Regions from separate parts of the Homo sapiens genome. Here region 1 is linked to region 2. Evidence: promoter capture Hi-C in 16 types of primary human blood cells and fetal thymus (Javierre and others, 2016). All regions are on one chromosome and are shown on one strand. Each heading gives the region's core, a stretch centred on a gene start or on the middle of the fragment in contact. The rest is flanking DNA. Distances are from core to core; before and after follow the strand shown.

Region 1 (3,190 bases), core at 292-2,791, 1.3 Mb before region 2:
CAAGTGCCAGTGGCATATTTTAAAATAAAGTGTATACGTTGGAATGAGTCATGCCATATGTAGTTGCTGTAGATGGCAACTAGAACCTTTGAGTTACAAGAGTCTTTAGAAGTTTTCTAACCCTGCCTAGTGCAAGTTACAATATTATAGCGTGTTCGGGGAGTGCCCTCCTGTCTGCAGGTGTGTCTCTGTGCCTGGGGGCTTTTCTCCACATGCTTAGGGGTGTGGGTCTTCCATTGGGGCATGATGGACCTGTCTACAGGTGATCTCTGTTGCCTTTGGGTCAGCACATTTGTTAGTCTCCTGGGGGTGAAAACTTGGCTTACAAGAGAACTGGAAAAATGATGAGATGTGGTCCCCAAACCCTTGATTGACTCTGGGGAGGGGCTTTGTGAATAGGATTGCTCTCACATTAAAGATAGTTACTTCAATTTGAAGGCTGGATTTAGGGATTTTTTTTTTTCCTTATAACAAAGACATCACCAGGATATGAAGCTTTTGTTGAAAGTTGGAAAAAAAGTGAAATTAAAGACATTCCCAGACAAATACTAAGACAATTTGTTGCCTATGGACGTCTGCCTTACAAGAAATACTAAATCCTTCACACAGAAAATAAATGACACCAGATGGTAACCTGAATCCACAGGATGAAATGAAGAGCACCAGAAATGGTGGATATATGTACAACTAGCAAAGACTGTATGATTGTATAGCTGCCATAAATTACTACAAATGCCCTGGCTTAAAGCAACACCTATTTATGATCTCAGAATTCCATAATTCAGAAGTCTAGGCATAGCTCAGATGGTTCTCTGCTCCATATTTTAAAAGGTCAAAATGAAGGCATTGGCTGGGCAACATTCTTTTCTGGAGGCTCGGATGAATAGGCTTCCAAGCTCATTGAGGTTGTTGGCAGAATTCAGCTCCATATGGTTGTAAGACAGGTTGGCCAGGGGTGGTTGTCAGTTTCTAGAAGCCACTCAAATTCTTTGGCTCGTGGTTCCCTCCTCCATCATCAAAACCAGCAGCAATGGGTTGAATCATCCTTGCACTTTTCTCGGATCTCCCCTTCTGCCTCATCTCTCCACTGTCTCTTCCACTGCATCTCTCTAATGCTTCTGCTTCCCTCTTCTGCTTTTAAGGGGCCATGTGATTACTCAGGGGGCCATCTGGATAATCCAGGATAATTACCCTATTTAGTAACCTCAGTTTTACCTGCAAAGTGCATTCACTGCAGTACCAAGATTAGTATTTGATTAAATAACTAGAGAATGGGAATCTTGGGGAAATAATTTGCCTACCAAAATAAATGTAAGTTATCTTTCAGTAGCATAAGACTATATAGTAATTACATCACCATACTGTTGGGTTTACAATATAGGTGCAGTGTATATTAATAACAAAGGAGTGGGTAGGAAATGGAACTCTATTGGGACAAAGATGTATCTTATTAGAATTAATTAGTCCTAATTTGAAGATGATTGTAATAAATTGAAATGCATGCTGTAGAGCCTGGAGTAACCACTGAAGCATCAATTTAAAAATAAATTAAAAAAAACAAAATGGTACACCAAGAAATATTTAACACAAAAGGCAGAAAGAAAGAAGCAAAATGATAGACATTTGGAAAACAAATAGCAAAATGGCAGCCATAAGTAATCATGCCAATAATTTCATTAAATGTGAATGGACTAAATAGTTAAAAGGTAGAGATGGTCAGGATGGATTTAAAAAGAAAAAACTATATGGTGTTCACAGAGGCACACTGTAGATTCAAAGACCAATAGCTGTAAAGTGAAAGTATGGAAAAATATAACATGCAAACAGTAATCGTAAGAGAGCTGGAATGTCTATATCAGTACAGTGGGCTTTAAGACAAATATTACTGGAAATATAGGATATTTTAAAAAGCCAATATATCAGATATAACAGTTAACATATGTATATGCACCTAACAGGACCCCAAAATAACGAGAAAAATGATAGAATTGAGAGGAGAAATGGACAATTTAATAATATTTGGAGATTTTGACACCTACAATAATTGATAGAATGACTCAATTGAGAATCACAGGCATACAAAAGAATGCTGTCAGCCAAATTGTCCAAACATTTACCACCACCCACCACGAACAGAATGCACACTCTTTGCTAGTGCACATGGAACATTCTCCAGGGGAAACCACATGCTATTTCATAAAAGAAGTCTCAGTGAATTAAAAGGGATGAAATAGTAGGAAGTATGTTCTCCAACCATGTTGAAATTAGAAGTCAACAGAAAATTGCAAATCCCAAAATATTCGGAAATTGAATCACACATTTCTAAAAAACCCATGTATTGAAGAAGTCACAAAGGAAGTTAGAAAATTTTAAACAAATGAAAAAGTACAGCATGTCAAAATTTATAGTGTACAGCTAATGCACTGTTTAAAGGGAAATTTACACTTTTAAATACCTATACTTTAGAAGTATTAAAGCCAGTGGGGATAGCTGCAAAAATACTTAAAACACAATATTAGGAAACTGAATCCAACAACAGATAAAAGGATTTATACACCAGGACCAAATGGGCCATATCCTAGGACTGTAAGCTTCATTTAACATCAAAAAAATCAATGTATTATACCATACTAATAGAAGAAACAATAAAACCCATATTATTATAATAACTAAATAGCCAAAGGAAAGAATATTTGACAGAATTCAGCACCCATTCGTGATGAAAACTCAGCAAACTAGAAATAGAAGGCAACTTCCTCAACCTAGTGAAGGGCATCGATAAAAAACTCACAGCCAACATACTTGATGGTGAAAGAATACTTTTCTCCTTAAATCAGAAACAAGTCGAGAACATCCTTTCATCATTTCTATTCAATGTTGTCATGGAGGTTCTGTCCAGTCCCTGTTCCCTCTCCCTACAAAAAGACTAGAAAGACATTAGGTTGGGGAAAAAAGTAAAACTGTCTTTATTAAGAAATATTACCTGTCAGATTCTAAAGAATCCACCGGAAAAAATTTTTTTTTTGAAGCTACAAGACCTAATTCAGCAAGCAAGGTTGTAGGATACACAATCAATATTAAAAATTGACATTATATTAGCAATGAACGATACCTTCAAAAGTAAACTCAGAATAGCGTCAAAAAGAATATAATAATACATTTATTTAATTGAAAAAATATTGCCGAGAGA
Region 2 (3,155 bases), core at 536-3,035:
TGAATGAGATGCCTGTAATCCCAGCACTTTGGGAGACTGAGGTGGGCAGATCACTTGAGGTCAGGAGTTCGAGACCAGCCTGGCCAACATGGCGAAATCCTGTCTCTACTAAAATTACAAAAATTATCCAGGAGTGGTGGCACATGCCTATAGTCCCAGCTACTTGGGAGGCTGAGGCAGGAGAATTGCTTGAACCCGGGAAGCGGAGGTTGCAGTGAGCCAAGATTGCACCATTGCACTCCAGCAGACTCTGTCTCAAAAAAAAAAAAAAAAAAAGAAAAGAAAAAGAATGAGGACCAGTATAGCTCTTAGTTTAGGGTCTTTATTTTTATTGGTGCTTCTGCCCTGGATTGTTTTTTGAGGGAAGAAAGAAAGGGTTGCGTGATTCTTTGTACATAGTGAAAACCTAGATCAGTTTTTACTTTAGGGCTATGGATAGTGGGAGTTGGGAGGGCAAGCAATAGTCTCAAAAATGTTCAAGGAATTAAAACACAAAAACGGAAAATTGCAAGTGTTGACAAGGTTGTGGAAACTTGGAACCCTCAAACATTGGTGATGGGAATGTAAAATGATTCATTCAGCTGCTGTGGAAAACTTTTTGGCAGTTCCTGGAAAAGTTAAACATAGAATTACCCTATGACCCAGAAAGTCCACTCCTAGGTATGTATCCAAAAGAACTGGGAACAGGTACTCAAATATGTGTACAGGCATGTTCAGAGCAGCACTATTCACAATAGCCAAAAGGTGGAAGTAACCCAAATATCTATCAAGGGATGAATGAATAAACAAATTATAATATACACATACAATGGGATATTAATCAGCCATAAAAAGGAATGAAGTACTGATCCACGCCTCAACATGGATGAATCTTAAATACAGGCTAAGTCAAAGAAACGACACAAAAGGCCGCATATTGTATGGTTGCATTTATATGAAATACCCAGAAAAAAGTAAACTCACAGAGATAGAAAATAGCTGAGTCGTTGCCAGGGTCTGGAGGAAGGAGGGACTGGGGAATTACTGCTTAATGGAGTATGGATGTTTCAGAACTAGATAGAAGTGGTTGCTCAACATTATGAATGTAATAAATGCCACCAAATCGTTCGCTTTTAAGTGGTTTATGTTATGCGAATTTCACCTCAAAAAAAAAAAAAGTTAAAAAGCCTTCTCTGCCTTTCTCTGGGGTTGGAGTCTTCCCAATGGATCCAGGGCAAAAGAAACATCCAGCCACTCTGTTTGCGGGAGGAGCAAAGGGTGGCTTGTCCCGACAGTTTGAGCTGTTGTGCATGCATTTACACACGCATTAATTCCAAATGAGTCAGCACAGTGTCCGAGACAGGTCCTGGGCTCCAGTGAGCACAGTCGCTCTCCTGGGGGAGGCACGTTCCACAAATTAACAGAAGTTCTGATAAACTCAGCATAGGGGGATTCGCTGTCCCAAGTATCAAGGAGTCCTAAAAGAAAAGGGCCTATTTCAGTCGGGGGACCTGGACTGAACTAACTCGTGTTCATGGCCGCCAAATCCCGTGTGACAAATGTATTCTTTTGTTGTTCATAGAAATAAAACAGTTTTTCGGGCCGCTTCAGGAGCTCCTCTGCAAAGGTGGGGAAAAAAGGCAACTAAATCAGCACGAGGACGTCAGCCCGAGGATGTCAGGAGCGGGGTCGGTGCGGACGGGCAGGTGGGCGGGGGGGCACCCCGCGCCCCGCCCCAGTCCCCTGGAGGCCGGCGGCCGCAGCTCGGGGAAGTGGGGACTGGCGCGGGGCCGCGCTCCCGCCCTCCTCGGCGGCGCCGACGGACCGGCAGGCGGCGGGCGGTCCGCGAGGGGGCGGCGGCGTCCGGGCTTTGTGGCCGCGGCGCGCGCGGCGGGGCCTGGCCGGCCGGGGGCGCGCCGCCGCCGCCGCCGCCGCCCGGCGTTCGGGAGCCCGCGGCCCTCCCGGCCGCCCTGCTTGCGAGAGGAGCCCAGGCCGCCCGCCCTCGCGCCTCGCCGGCCCCTCCCCCGGTCGCCGCGGCTGCCGCGCCGCCGCTGCAGGTAGGAGGCTCCCCTTCCGGGCGGGCCGCAGCCGGGCGGGGGCGGGGGTGGGGGGCGCGGGCCGGGCGTAGAGGGGGCCGGGGGCCGGCATGGAGGGTTTTCGGGCCGAGCCGCTGCGACCCCGGCCTTGCAGGCTGGGCGCCGGGCGGCCGCCTCTGCGCGCCGCGATGGGACTCGGTGAGTAGGGCCGGCCTGCTGCCTACAAAGCCCCGGGGCGCGGGCCTCTGGGGTACTCAGTGGCGCGCCCACGGCTGGGAGCGGGGTGGGCTTTGGACTCCCGGGCTCGGGGAGCTGCTCGGGGGGAATCCAGGTGACCTGCAGTACCGCGGTCTTCCCATCCCGGCGTCCCCACTGTGTGCTGATCACTGTGCTCGGCGCTTTTCCATACTTGTCTCCTTTAAGACCTCCAGTGCCCCGCCCGTCCAGAGTGTAACGGGAGGGATCCCTCACTTGCAGGATGAAGGCCGAGCATCACATCCTTGCTTGACTGACCTTGGGAAAGCTCCTTTACTCCGAGCCGGGGCTACTGTTTCTGTAAATTAGAGGCGGGGGTCGGGGGGGCGTGGTATAATATCTACCCTCAGGTACTATTGTGAAAGATAATGTATGTAAATGATAACAGCTAAATTTTGAGCACTCTGTATGTACCAGGCCCTAGGTACTAAACAGTTGGCATGAATTATCATTGAATCATCACCCTGGCGCTGTGAGGTAGTTACTGTAAATTGCATGAATAATCTTTATTTAGGAGTACGAAACAGTGAAGAATTTAGTCTCCCTATTCCGATTCAGGAGGTTGGGTATTTCTTAGGCGTGATAACATTTAACATTACAGACGTTCCTGCAGTATCGAGGAGAGTAGTTATAGGATGCAGGGATATATTTGTCATACATTTAAAACTGGAGGTAGGATAATATCAGGGCCAGAGAGTGTGCCTTTCAGCATGTCAGAGCAGATGATTGTATTCCAAGGAAATTGCTGAATATTAATTAAAAAACATAGTTTCTGAGTTAGGATTGAGGATGGCTGTGGGAGTCCAGGGCCAGAGAGAGACATGGGATGGACAAGGGGGAGAAGAAGGATTCTGAAGTCCTGGAGGAAGATGTAGAGGAAGGCAC

What was found. The method cuts DNA at HindIII sites, captures the fragments that hold promoters and counts their contacts. A CHiCAGO score of 5 or more calls a contact.
Region 1: a fragment that was not itself captured here is called in contact with the fragment with the promoter of MSANTD3 in region 2 in 1 of 17 cell types (total B cells); the score reaches 8.5 in total B cells.

What each region holds. Positions count from the first base shown.
Region 1 is chr9:99,153,647-99,156,836 of GRCh38, forward strand. It overlaps TGFBR1 (transforming growth factor beta receptor 1), which reads left to right. Exons shown (of 9, transcript NM_004612.4): 9 at 1-546. Among named protein-coding and RNA genes, the nearest start is that of TGFBR1, 50 kb to the left of the region's middle. The HindIII fragment of the contact is 2,096 bases long and covers 494-2,589 here.
Region 2 is chr9:100,425,358-100,428,512 of GRCh38, forward strand. MSANTD3 (Myb/SANT DNA binding domain containing 3) reads left to right here and starts at 1,786. Exons shown (of 3, transcript NM_080655.3): 1 at 1,786-2,036. RefSeq lists silencers at 1,623-1,852, 1,893-2,122, 2,163-2,282. The HindIII fragment of the contact is 12,044 bases long and covers 1-3,155 here.